Regions from separate parts of the Homo sapiens genome. Here regions 1 and 3 are each linked to region 2. Evidence: promoter capture Hi-C in 16 types of primary human blood cells and fetal thymus (Javierre and others, 2016). All regions are on one chromosome and are shown on one strand. Each heading gives the region's core, a stretch centred on a gene start or on the middle of the fragment in contact. The rest is flanking DNA. Distances are from core to core; before and after follow the strand shown.

The links. Contacts are between HindIII fragments. The CHiCAGO score rates a contact against its expected background, and 5 or more counts as called.
Region 1: a contact is called between the fragment with the promoter of LINC01433 here and the fragment with the promoter of SIGLEC1 in region 2, in 1 of 17 cell types (neutrophils). The highest score is 8.4, in neutrophils.
Region 3: a fragment that was not itself captured here is called in contact with the fragment with the promoter of SIGLEC1 in region 2 in 6 of 17 cell types (naive CD8 T cells, naive B cells, total CD8 T cells and 3 more); the score reaches 7.7 in naive CD8 T cells.

Annotation. Positions count from the first base shown.
Region 1 is chr20:4,189,988-4,194,468 of GRCh38, forward strand. LINC01433 (long intergenic non-protein coding RNA 1433) reads left to right here and starts at 3,103. Exons shown (of 3, transcript NR_033917.1): 1 at 3,103-3,259. The HindIII fragment of the contact is 5,002 bases long and covers 1,446-4,481 here.
Region 2 is chr20:3,711,222-3,715,637 of GRCh38, forward strand. SIGLEC1 (sialic acid binding Ig like lectin 1) reads right to left here and starts at 1,379. Exons shown (of 22, transcript NM_023068.4): 1 at 1,249-1,379. The HindIII fragment of the contact is 9,565 bases long and covers 1-4,416 here.
Region 3 is chr20:4,082,061-4,086,523 of GRCh38, forward strand. No RefSeq gene overlaps it. Among named protein-coding and RNA genes, the nearest start is that of SMOX, 65 kb to the right of the region's middle. RefSeq lists enhancers at 177-376, 290-791, 792-1,291 and a cis regulatory region at 661-1,358. The HindIII fragment of the contact is 2,320 bases long and covers 1,944-4,263 here.

The DNA of each region.
Region 1 (4,481 bases), core at 1,853-4,352, 480 kb after region 2:
GTGCAGTGGCATGATCCCGGCTCACTGCAACCTCCACCTCCCAGGCTCAAGCGATTCTCCTGCCTCAGCTTCCCGAGTAGCTGGGATTAAGGCACGAACCACCATGCCCAGCTAATTTTTCTATTTTAAATAGAGTTGGGGTTTTGCTATATTGGCCAGACTGGTCTCAAACTCCTGACCTCAGGTGATCCACCCGCCTCGGACTCCCAAGGTGTTGGGATTACAGGCGTAGCCACTATGCCCAGCCTATATATGAAAAATTGTCTGAATAGATGATCTGTTCATGTAGTTTAAGCCCAAAAGCTGTCCACGTGGATACAATACACTGAAATGTTCCCTCTCACAGTGTCCCCAGTCACTGTTGCCTCTCCCACAGCCCTAGGGGTATCCATTCCTAGATGTAAGTCAATATAAAAACACTCTTCTCCCTCCTTTTTATACAAAAGCACCAAAGTATTCATCTTGTCCTGATTTTGCTTGTTTTAGTTAACAATATGTCCTGTAGGCTGGGCGCGGTGGCTCACACCTGTAGTCCCAGCACCTTGAGAGGCCAAGGCGGGTGGATCACCTGAGGTCAGGAGTTCAAGACAAGCCTGGCCAACATGGTGAAACCCTGTCTCTACTAAAAGTACAAAAAATAAGCCGGGTGTGGTGATGCATACCTGTAATCCCAGCTACTCGGGAGGCTGAGGCAGGAGAATTGCTTGAACCCAGGAGGTGGAGGTTGCAGCGAGCCGAGATCGCGCCATTGAACTCCAGCCTGGGCAACAAGAGTGAAACTCTGTCTCAAAAACAAACAGAAAAACAAATAAAAAATCAAAAAAACCCACAATATGTCTTGGACATCTTTCTGTAATGGTACATAAGCAGACAATGTAAATTTGGACCTTACTTTGGTCAAAGCATGTCTGTCTCCTCCCTGGCCCAGGGTCACTTTATGGAAGCCACCTTCTATTACCTGTTACCTTCCATGACTCATAGTCTGCTGTCTGCTTCTGACTCCTCAGTTGTTGGATTTCCCCATCCACTGCAGTGGGATGGAGACAAGCAGCCCCATCACATAAGTATCGGGGAAGAAAGTGATAAATAGGTTCTCAGTGTATAGGCAGAGGAATTTTAAAGGACTCCATGGTGGGGTGAAAGGTCTGGAAATGTTTACTTGGTGACTGCACTTCAGGGAGCTTCATGGGTGGGTAAGAGGGAGGGAGAGAATATTCACTTAGTGCCAATTGCCTGGCACTATGCCATGTGAATGTGATACTGATTTGACAGTGATGCCAACTCAGGCTTTATTTATTCCTGTGGGCAAGTGAAACCTCAGAGAAGTTAAGTAACTTGCCCAGGGTTGCTCAGAGGTGCCGAGACATGAGCTGAAGTCTGTCTGACTGCGTGGTGTAGGCTCGTTCTATTGTATGATGAAAAGAAGAGGCTGGTGCCACCAAAAAAGCTTAAGGCCATTGCTGGAGAGAGTGGGTGTGGTACGACCACACTGGGGGACTGTGGCGGAGTCAGCTAAAACTGGCCATGTGCTTGCCAGCGTTCCCACCCCTGGGTATACACCCAAGAGAAAGGCGTGCAGGTGCTCACCAAACATATATACCAATGTGTCCACAGTAACATGGACCCTAACAGCTAAAAAACTGGAAGCTGCCCAGATGTCCATCAACAGTAGAATGAATTCCAGTGCACTCACACAATGGAATACTATATAGCAATAAATAAAAGGAATGGATATTTGCAACAACATGGATTAACCTCAAAAATGTTATGTTGGCAGGGTATGATGGCTCATGTACCCCCAGCACTTTGAGAGGCCAAGGCAGGTGGATTGCTTGAGCTCAGGAGTTCAAGACCAGCCTGGGCAACAAGGCGAAACCCCGTCTCCACAAAAAATACAGAAATTAGCTGGGCATGGTGGTGCGTGCCTATAGTCTCAGCTACTGGGGAGGCTGAGGTGGGAGAAATGCTTGAACCCAGAAGGTTGAGTCCGCAGTGAGCTGTGATCATGCCACTGCACTCCAGCCTGAGCAACAGAGCAAGATTCCATCTCAAAACAGCAACAGCAACAACAACAACACAACAAAAACCCTCAAAACATTATGTTGAGTTAAAGAAGCCGGACAAAAGGCTATGTACTATATGATTTCTTTTATGTAACGTTCAAGAACTTGCAAAACTAATCTACTGTGTTGGAAATGAGGGGCTGGGGGTGGCGGCTGGGCAGGAGTGGGATGGGGGCACTTCCTGGGGTAACGGAAGTGTTCCACATCTTGATCTGGGTGGCGGTTGCATGGGCATACACGTTGGTAAAAATGCATCAAGTTATACATGGAAGAAAGTTTCAAGAGTCTGAGAATGCCTCCCTCCATTCTCCCATTCCAAAACATGGTCATATTGGCCCAGCTAATTTCCTCCTTGCAGCAGAGATGACACATCTGAGAGCAGATAAAGGGAGGAGGGGCCCTCTTAGGCCCCACTGGCTGCCTGGTGATAAGCAGTGACCTCAAATTAATATAGGATGTCACTGTTTACCAGCTCCATTGCCTGTATCCCCTTATCCTCTCTGCATCTGCAACCACGAAAGAGGGGTTGGGATTGTTCCACAGCAGAGGAAATGGAGGTTCTCGGAAGGACCTCGGGGAGGCCATGCAAGGCTACTCGGCTTGGAGAGGACATGACCTCGTGGGGAAGGGAGCAACCCGGGGAGGAAGCCGAGGGGGAGCCTTTGGACACACAGGCAGGGACAGGCGCCAGAGGGGGCACCTCCTGCAGTGTGCTGCCTCCACATCAATAATTGCATAATGTGGATACCATTTATGATTGACAGTTCCAAAAACCAAACTCACTCACTACAGATGAGCAAGGAAGAGCAAGAGCCATTCAGAAGTGAGGAGGTATGACGTACAAGGAACACAGGATATGTTTCATGCTGTGATGAAGTTTCACAATAGACTTGGCATAGATTGAAACCCAAAGGGCTCTATCAGAAGTGGCAAATGTGGCACGCTCAGGCCAACACCCATGCCAATGATTCCTATAAAATTCCCATTGCCTGGTAGAAGTTCACAGGAGAGGAAAGTTCTTTCCTGCACCAGGTTCTATGGAGAATTGGTTGCATGGTTTCTCGTGCTGTGGGCATCAGGGACTTCAGGTGAAGGTATTTAGCTGTGGCTTTGTGCAAACCTCAGAACTGTGTCCTCCAAGGGCCTGGGGTATTTGGCAGGCGCTGTCTCTTGCTGCCTTTGCTGCTGTATGACAGGTGAGTAATATGTTATATCCTATTTCTTGGGAGCTGCCTGGAGTGTCTGCCCCTCCTGCAAACAAATGTAGGAGTGAAGCACCTCTAGTTTGAGTCACCTTAACTTACTAGGTCCTGTTGGGGGTGAGCTCAAGGGTAACTCCAAGGTGCAGAGTGAGTTAGGCTGCTGGTTCAGTTCTTGAGAATTGCCTGTCTAATTAGTGGTCTGCCAAACTTAATGGTAGAGTTACAGAAGGCTGTATTCTTTATAATGACTGGCTGGGCTGTTTGTTGAGACTCCTTATTTGTGTAGGACAATCAAGCCATCAACACGCAGGCAGAGTTGTTGCTCTACTAAGGTGGCAGCCAGGACATCTAATCTTGTGTTATGTATTTAATATTAAAAAAGGGGGTCGTTCACTGCCCTGTTTCATACTGTTCAGCTTGAGACTGGTAGGTACAAAAGTCTTCTCACTTCCCATGATTCTAGCGGTGATTGTTTAACACCGATTTTGCCAGAACGTTCAAAGCCTGGATCTCTCTCAGAGAATGCAAAGTGTTAGGCACATTTTATTTCTGCAAACTCTGTGTTTGTGCAATTTCAATGCGTTGGATTGGGTATTCCCTCTCCATTTCACTGTAGTCCCAGCTACTCCCTTTTGTCTTAGATCTGCTACCATCCCACTCCCATACATGGGGCACATGGGGTTACACAGCTGTCTTTCATCCCCAGTTCAAGGTCATGTGGCCACTTTATTATGCCTTGAAGCTCTTTCTTCTCTTCTATGAGCTACTTGGGTGTGCTTTCTGTTACTTGAGCCATTGGTTCCTCCTCTTTTGCTCAAATTAGTTTGGGTTAGGCTTCTGTCACTTCTGATCAGTTCAAACTAATTAAAATTGGTTCCAGGACTGGAGTTTTACATTTGGTCTGTCATTTCACTGGGTCTCTTTCTAATACCCTCAACTCTCTTACCCCCTGTTTTGTTAAAGCCAATTGACACAATTCCAATCAGCATTCAGTCTACAGCTACGGCTGGGCCACCATCAGTTGCTGCTGGAAAAAAACAGAGCCACACCTGCTGGCCGAAGCAAAGCAAATAACAACACTGCCTGCAGAATCTTTCCAGGGACTTAACATATTTAAAGCAGAAATTCTGCTTCTTCCTAAATCTAATCTACCCTTGGTCTTCCACATTTGAGTAAGTGGTACCACCATTTGGCCCAGGGCAAACACCTGGGCCAT
Region 2 (4,416 bases), core at 129-2,628:
TACTTGGGTCTCCAAGTCTTGGGTGCTCTGAAGACAGGATTTTAAATCCCCACTCCTACTATTGGTATGTGTTGCATCAGGGTGGCTTGAGCTGGCCTGGTACACAGTGGGCACTCACGTTTGCTGCCTGTTTGAGACCAAGTGCCTCAGGAGGTCTTGGAGGGTTGGCTGGGGCCCCAAGTCCCTGACCTCTGATTCCAGAGGCCAAGTTTAGCTGGGGAAGAAAGGGCAGAGGCAGTTTCCCTATGGACAGCTAGGCCCGGGTGTAGGATTCAGTTTCTGTTTCCTGACACCAAGGCTTCTCCCCAACTTCCCCATTGGGCTAGAGAAGGAAGAACACAGGGTGACATGGCCAGCTGGAGGTTACTGGCCCACAGATAGGGAGTCAGGGTACGGATGGGCAATTCCTGGAGCAGATTATGGTCAAAATAGTGGAAATCCCCAATCACAGGCCAAATGTTTAATTCTCAGAGCCATAGAATCCATAACTAATGCTTATTGGCTTTGACATGGGCAGTAGAAATTTCACACTTCATTCCTTAATCTGGCTCTAAATGCTTCTGGCTGGAGTGCTCACTCTCCAAACTGTGCTGGACAGCACCAGAAGCCCTCCTGTGGACGGACGAAGTGGTGATGGATGAAGTGGAATTGTGCTGGGGTTAGAGTAAGGAGAGATTATCGTTGGGCTGGGCTGGGGCTGAGGTCAGGGTGATGATCAGGTTGGAATTCTGGAAGCAAATTAAGGCTGGGATTGGGGTGGACATTGAGGTTGAGTGATGGGTGGGGGTAAGGGTGAAGGTTGGAGTTGGGTGCAGGTGATGGTTAAGATACGGTGGAGGCTGGGTTGAGATGAGGATGATAGAGTCGGAGTTGTGGTTAGGGTTGGGATGATGGATGGTTGGGATTAGATGAGATGAGTAAATGGTTAGGGTTGGGGTGCAAGTGAGGTGAGGGTGAGATAAGGTTGGAATAGGGGCTGGGGCTGGGGCTGAGGTAGGGTCAGAGCAGGGTGATGGTCGGGACTGGGATTGGGATGCAGGTTGGAAGGATTTGGGGGTGGTGGAAGGGTTTCAGTTGAGTCCATCTTTGATTAGTGTCTTGGACTTGGGTTGGTTTGGGGTCCACCACTCGCACCCAGATGGAGCCCCCCCCCGACCCCTGCCCCTATCCCGCTCAGCCAGTTTCAGCCCAGCCCCGCTCCTAATGCTCCACTCACCCTCTGGGCCCAGGGACCAGGGACAGGGGTACCTGCTCCACAGAAGGAAGTGGCTGCGGCGGTGCTGGACCTGCGGAGAGGAGAACAGGAAGGACGGCCAAGAGCTCCTGGTGCAGCTGGCTCCCCAGGGCTCTGCCGGCTCAAGAGAGAAGGATCCCGTATCAGGGGCTGCTTCCTCTTTCCCAAAGCCTCAGCTCTACTGTCCAACCCAGAGGCTGGTCAGGGAGGCAGCTGCAGGCCTTGCGCAATGCCAAAACGGGAAAGACCTCCATAGGGGAAGGCCCTCGGCAAGGCCAGGGACTTAGGGACTCCAGCAAGCAGAAGTGGGACCGCTGCAACGCTGGAGCCTCCCCAGGCAAAGTGAGAAATGGAGTGGGGGACTCCCATTCACCAGCCAAATCCACACCCCACTCTCTCTGAGCCCCTTAGGGAGGCTGGGGGAGGTGGAAGGGGGCTTCCTGCACACAGCTCTCCTCCCTGACACCTGAGAGGGAGGCGCGCCCAGCCTGGGGTGGGGATGCACTACACGATGCCCAGACCAAGGCAGTTATTCTCCAAGCCATTCAGGAGCCTCCCTGTACCACTGAGTACTCTTAAGAACCCCCAAGAGGCAGTCCCGTGTTGTGGGGGACATAAGGCCCCAATGTCCAGGACACTCCTCAGGTTTTCTCTTTCCCCTCTCACTGTCCTGTACGTTTTTTGGTTTTTGGCTTCTTGTTGTTGGTTTTTTTCTTTTTGTTTTGTTTTTGCTTTTGAGATGGAGTCTCACTCTGTCGTCCAGGCTGGAGTGCGGTGGCACAATCTCAGCTCACGGCAACCTCCACCTCCCGAGTTCAAGTGATCATCTTGCCTCAGCCTCTCGAGTAGCTGGGATTACAGGCATGCACCACCACATCCGGCTAATTTTTGTATTTTTGGTAGAGACGGGGTTTCACCATGTTGTCCAGGTTGGTCTTGAACTCCTGACCCCAAGTAATCTGCCTGCCTCGGCCTCCCAAAGTTCTGGGATTACAGAGGTGAGCCGCTGCACCCGGCCACTATCCTATACCTTCACCCCCACCTTGGGACAGGAAAGGAAAGCCCCCACCACAGCTAGTTACTGTTACATTACTGCAGCCCATCTTATTGAGGGCCTAGTTTGTGCAGGCACTTGACATGTGAAGCAGATGTTAATTGCTCCAAGCAATCCCAGATACAAGCAACAAGACTTTTTTTGGTTTTTGTTTGTTTGTTTGTTTTTGTTTTTTGAGACAGTGTCTTGCTCTGTCGCCCAGGCTGGGGTGTCCTGGTGCAATCTTGGCTCACTTTGGCTCACTGCAGCTTCGAAATTCTAGGCTTAAGCAATCCTCCTGCTTCAGCCTCCTAAGAAGCCGGGATTACAGGCGCTTGCCACTATGCACGGCTAATTTTTTAAGTTATTTTGTAGAGACGGAGTCTCCCTATGTTCCCAGGCTGGTCTCAAACACCTGGGCTCAAGTGACTCTCCCACCTCGACCTCCCAAAGTGCTGGAACTACAGGCGTAAGCCACCACTCCTGGCCATTTTTTTTTTTAATTTCACAACTCAAACTTAATTCAACTCAGTCCCTGCCTACCTGTACTGGTGGGGAGCTGGCCACAGCAAATTAGGCCCCTGTACCCTGAGGGCAAGGCCACGTGTGCAGGTGTAAAAGGATGTGAAACCCTAAATCAGGGTGGATCCAGAATCGCAGGCCATGGTGCCCCAAAGCAGATGTCTGGTGACATTCCACCCTGAAATGCTCAGGCTACAGAGATATTAGGTCTCTATCACTCTGTTCCTCTTTATAGCTCCTGTGTCCACTCCTATGCTTGGGCCATTTCCTCTTTCGGCCAAAACACAAAGGGTTCATCCCATTACTTCCTCCCTCAACAGCTGGTCCGGAGACACCCAGCTCTAGGCCTGTGGGGTTGTGACACATGGGTACCAATCCTTCAGTCCACTGGGACTCTATACATCCACCCCTTGGCTTCATGGTGGGAAAGCATCCCTTGACTTTGACCTTAGTCATATGACTTGCTCTGGCCAATGGATGTGCACGGACATGACACAAACTAAGTCTTGAAACGTACTTAAGCAGTTTGCCTTTCCCCCTGAATTTCTGTCATTGCCATGCAAGGGGCAGGCTCCAACTAACCTGCTGGTCCAAAGAGGATGACGAACACATGCAGATGACCTGAATCAGACCCATGGATTGAAACAAAACTCAGCTGAGCCCAGCCTACGTCCACCAGACCAGTCAACCTGTGGATGCGTGAATTTATTGCTGGATGCTGCTGAGAATTTTGTGGCTACATTAGCAAGATGATACAAGGCCTAAGTCCCAGAACAACACACCCAGAACTTGCTTACCTTTCCTTAGCATGAGGAGAGCAAAGACTTGTCTACCTTGATTAGTCAGGGAGCACTGCTTCCTGTCATTTCCTTGAGTATACAGCAAACTAGGTAAATAAATAAAAATAACTAGGTAGGCTGGGCACGGTGGCTCACGCCTGTAATCTCAGCACTTTAGGAGGCCGAGGTGGGCAGATCGCTTGAGGCCAGGAGTTCAAGACCAGCCTGGTCAACGTGGCGAAACCCTGTCTCTACGAAAAATACAAAAATTAGCTGGGCCTGGTGGCAGGCGCCTGTAGTCTCAGCTACTCAGGAGGCTGAGGCACGAGAATCGATTGAACCCGGGAGGTGGAGATTGCAGTGAGCCGAGATCACACTACTGCACTCCAGCCTGGATGACAGAGCGAGACTCTGCCTCAAAATATTTTAAAAAATGTAATTTCTCAGTAGGTCACACTGTTACACATTCATCTAATAACAATTATTCTTTTTCTTTTTTTTTTTTTTTTTTGGAGATAGGGTCTCACTGTCACCCAGGCTGGACAGGCTGGAGTGCAATGGCACAATCTCGGCTCACTGCAACTTTGACCTCCTAGGCTCAAGTGATCCTCCTGCCTCAGCCTCCCAAGTTGCTGGGACTACAGGTGAGTACCACCAGACGCAGCCAATTTTTGTATTTTTTTGTAGAGATGGGGCTTCACCATGTTGCCCAGGCTGGTCTCACACTCCTGAGAGTTCCCAGTCAAGTGATCCACCCACCTTGGCCTCCCAAAGTGCTGGGATTACAGGTATGAGCCACCATACCCAGTGAATTATTCTCGTTCCAGATAGGAAAACCAAGTCATAGG
Region 3 (4,463 bases), core at 1,854-4,353, 370 kb after region 2:
CTGTTCAATCCATCCATTGAATTTTAAATTTTGTTGATGTATATTTTGGTTCTAAAATTTCCATTTAGTTCTTTTTTTTTTTTTGAGAAGGAGTCTTGGTCTGTCGCCCAGGCTGGAGTGCAGTGGCGCAAACATCTCGGCTCACTGCAAGCTCCACCTCCTGGGTTTAAGGGATTCTTCTGTCTCAGCCTCTTGAGTACCTGGGATTAGAGGCAGGCACCCCCACGCCTGGCTAATTTTTGTATTTTTAGTAGAGATGGGGTTTCCACCATGTTGGCCAGGCTGGTCTTGAGCCCCTGACCTCAAATGATCCACCCGTCTCAGCCTCCCAAAGTGTTGGGATTACAGGCATGAGCCACTGTGCCTGGCCTCCATTTGGTTCTTTTTTATGTCTCCTGTTTCTTTGCTGAGACCCACGACTTTCTGTTCCTTTGCTGAGACTTTCTATTTTTGTGTGTTTTTTTCAAGGGTTTGTAGTTGCTCATTGAAGCATTTTCATGATGGCTGCTTTGAAATTCTTGTCAGACAATTCTAATATCCATGTCACCTAGGCACTGGTGTCTGTTGATTATTTTTCCTAATTCAATTTGAGGTTTTCTTGGTTCTTGGTTTGATGAGTCATTTTCAACGGAAACCTCAACATTTTGAGTTTCTGTTGTGAGACCTTGGAGCTTCTTTAAATCTGATTTAGCAGAGGCCTCCTCTGACTTGCTCTAGGGAAAGGGGCTGCTACTTTGTTCCTGTCAGGTGAGGTGAAGGTCCAGGTTCCCCACTCTGCCTCTGTTGACAGTCAGGGTCAGGGAAGGAGCGCCTCATCACTGTTGGGCAGTGGGTAGGGTTCAGGCTTCCTACTAGGTCTCCATCGACAACACCCTGGCTGGGAGGGGCAGAGTTCCCTTGTCACTGCTTCACATGTGACCTCCACTGATACTGTGGGGAAGCAGGATAGCCTTGTTACCGTTTGGCAGTTGCGAAAGTCCTGAGTCTCCACCAGGCTTCCTCTGAGACCACTGGAGAGGGGGCGGGGGAGAGGAGGGGGGCGGGGGAGAGGAGGGGGGCGGGGGAGAGGAGGGGGGCGGGGGAGAGGAGGAGGGCGGGGGAGAGGAGGAGGGCGGGGGAGAGGAGGAGGGGTGCTCCGTTACCACCAGCTGGGAATGAAAGTCCAGGCTTCCCATGTGGTCTCCACTGACACCCCTGGGAAGGGAGACCTCATTGCTGCCCAGCGGGATAAAAGTCCTGGCTTCCCACCCAGCTTTTTCTGACACTAGCCTGGCCAGGGGGAAGGAGATTGAAACCTCATGATAGCCTGAAGCCGTGAAGTCCAGCCTGAGCCTAGCCATGAAGCCGAGGCTCCCCACTCAGCCTTTGATGGTGCGGGTGGGGGTGGGGTCTTACATTTTTTCCTATGGTATTTGGCTGGCACAGAACGATCATTGTCTAAAAGTTTTCTGTTTTGCTAGGCCACTCCATCTTGGTCCTTTGGCAAGCAGAGCAGGATTTTCTTGGGCTTTTGTGGGGCATCTATTCCCATTGTTGTTTCCAGAATGCTGGCTTCTTTGCACACTGTCTGGGATATATGAGCCAAAAAGATAAACCCAGAGAACTCATTGCTGTGTCATTCCCTAGGCCCCAAAGTCCCTAGCTGGTTTGCCTTCTTCTCTCTGCTTTCAGATGCTTGTTTTATAGGCAGTATCTAGGGTTTTTAGCCATATTTACTGGAAAGAATAGGAAAAAACACATCTACTCCATATTTCTGAGAGTTGAGGTGTCATAGGTTGATTTAACCATGCCACTGATGCCTTTAGCTCTATCTGCCATGCAGCAGGTATCTTCTAGGTCCTTCATGGGGACCAGGCACTAGTTGAGGCCAAAGAGGAGACAAAGACTGACTCTGACTTCAGGAGCTCACAGTTTTGCGGGAACACAGGACTTTGCCCCAGGTAAGCTTGGATAGTGAAGAATAAGATGCTATAGAGGAAGGAATTACTTGAATGGCCTGGTTGGGGAGAGCTTCCTGGGAGGGTGAAAGTGGAGATAGAGTATTTTGGTAAATTTTAGAGAGGAGCTGCAGGAAGTACAGGTGCCAGGAGAGGAGCAGAGGTCCAGAGGGGTAAGTAGGGATGGCAGGAGGCAGCAGGGAGAGAGCTTGCCTGGTTGGGCCCTCAGGTGAAGCGAATGAGCCTGAAGGACACCATGCACAGGGGCTTGACAGTAGTATCTTCAGAACAGGAATCTGGGGATCAACTGTGACATGGCAATTGTGTGGGTGAGCAAAGATGGTGGCCTGGCCAGTGCAGTGGCTATGGGGTGGAGAGGAGAGAACAGGATCAAGAGGCATTTAGAAGGTAGAACTGATGGGTGTCTGGATTGATCTGGGGAAGAAAGAGAGAGGAATTAGATATGAGGCTGAGATTTCCAGCTGAGGTCTCTGGGGAAGAATGGTGCCATAAACACGCAGAGAGAGAAGACAGAGAGGGGAACCAATCTTTGGAATAAGAGGATGAGATTTTGGCCACTGGTACCCAGAGGCCCTTCTTCAGAGAATGATGCAATGAGACCGAGGTGAATATTTTCTCTGAGCACTGAAGTTTCAGATCAAATAAGCAACAGATTTCTGCTCTGTGAAAGCCCTGTAGTCGAAAGGCAGTACATTGCAAATTTCAAAGAATAAGGCACTATCCTCTACTTTTGAGAGAAAGAAATGGAAGTCACACGCCAAAAAGTTGAAGTCTCTCCTAGACTCAGATGTCCTCAGTCTTCATCACTCTCTCTGGGTCTGATGGTCAGGAGGCCTAATGCTCAAGCTGTAAGGCGAGGCTCCTTAGAACCACTTGAGTCACCTGTCCGAAGCTGAATTGCATGATGGCTTCATTCAGAGCCACCCAAATCATTCTGGCCAATCACGGGCAACTGTGGATGGTTCAATGGCACCTTCCTTTCAGAGAATAGAAGTCCCAGGAGGGCAGGGGTCTTTGTCTGATTTGTTCACTGAAGAATCCCAGGTGTCTAATAGGCTGCTGGTATATAGTAGATGCTAAATAAATACTGGTTAAATAAATGAAGGATTGCAATGGGTTTGGGGGAAGTCTGAGGCCAGGGTTAGGGGTCACACCAAGGTCAGGTTTTTAAAGTATAGGATCCCATTTTTGGTACTGAAACGTGGTTGGGGTATTTAGGGGTCTGCCTATTGGGACAAAGGTTTCTTGGAGGACATCGCACACCTCTCAACCTGAGGACTCCTTATGGGCTCAGGGGAGCAGCTACTGGCTGAGATTTTTAAAGCAGGGTCTCAGTCAGTGAAAGCCTGGCTTGCTTTCCCTGAAGAGAGCTATGCGCGTGCCTGGCCATGGGGCTCACAGCTGCCCCCTGGTGGTCAGCCACAGCCCCCTGCCAACCCTTGGGCGTGGTATTTTTCCAGCCTTAAGTCAGGCAGCAACGGCACATCCTAACGCAGGGTCCGTCTGGTTCCCGGGCCCCAGGTGGCGAGGGAACAGGAATGAGGGCTCTCCGGCACTCTCCGCTTTGCCCTTGGCCTCCTTTTTTCATCAGGGAAGACTCAGGGGAGGGCCTGCGCTGTGCCTCTCTTCAGCATCTGTGAAGATTCTGCCAGCTCCCCAGCCCCGTGCTCTCCGAGGGCATTTTTGTGCACGCAGGGCAGATTCCGGATTCCAAGAACATCAGTCATGGAATGACCTCTCTCCGGCCCCTTGGTGTGACCTCACTGTCTTGCCTCCTCCACCTGCACGTTCTTTGCCAGCCTGTAGGTCCTATCGTGGGGACTCCTCCCTGACCTCTGCCAATTTGAAGTGGGAACTCAGATGAGTGCCTCTGACTTTTTTTTTTTTTTTTTTTGAGACGGAGTCTCGCTCTGTCGCCCAGGCTGGAGTGCAGTGGCGCGATCTCGGCTCACTGCAAGCTCCGCCTCCTGGGTTCACGCCATTCTCCTGCCTCAGTCTCCCGAGTAGCTGGGACTACAGGCGCCCGCCACCACGCCCGGCTAATTTTTTTGTATTTTTAGTAGATACAGGGTTTCACCGTGTTAACCAGGATGGTTTTGATCTCCTGACCTCGTGATCCGCCCGCCTCGGCCTCCCAAAGTGCTGGGATTACAGGCGTGAGCCACCGCGCCCGACCGAGTGCCTCTGACTCTCACAAGGGCTCGTGTCTTCAGTTCCAGGCAGGCCCTGGAAGGGCATGGGGCAACATCTGGGGCGCCCCCACGGCTGCCTCTCTCTCCCCCCACGGCCCTGTGCCCCTCAGCAAAGCTTCTTCAGAACAGCTCTTTGGACAGCAGCTCTCAGGGCATCTGTAGCTGGTGCCAGCCTACACCCCCCATGCAGCTATCATGGACAGCGAGGGCATAGGCTCTGGCCATAGGACCCCACAACCAGCACCACCATGTTCTGAGTTAATGGTGGGAATTTATCTCCCAGCATGATCTGACATGGTCTGACAGCAAGCCC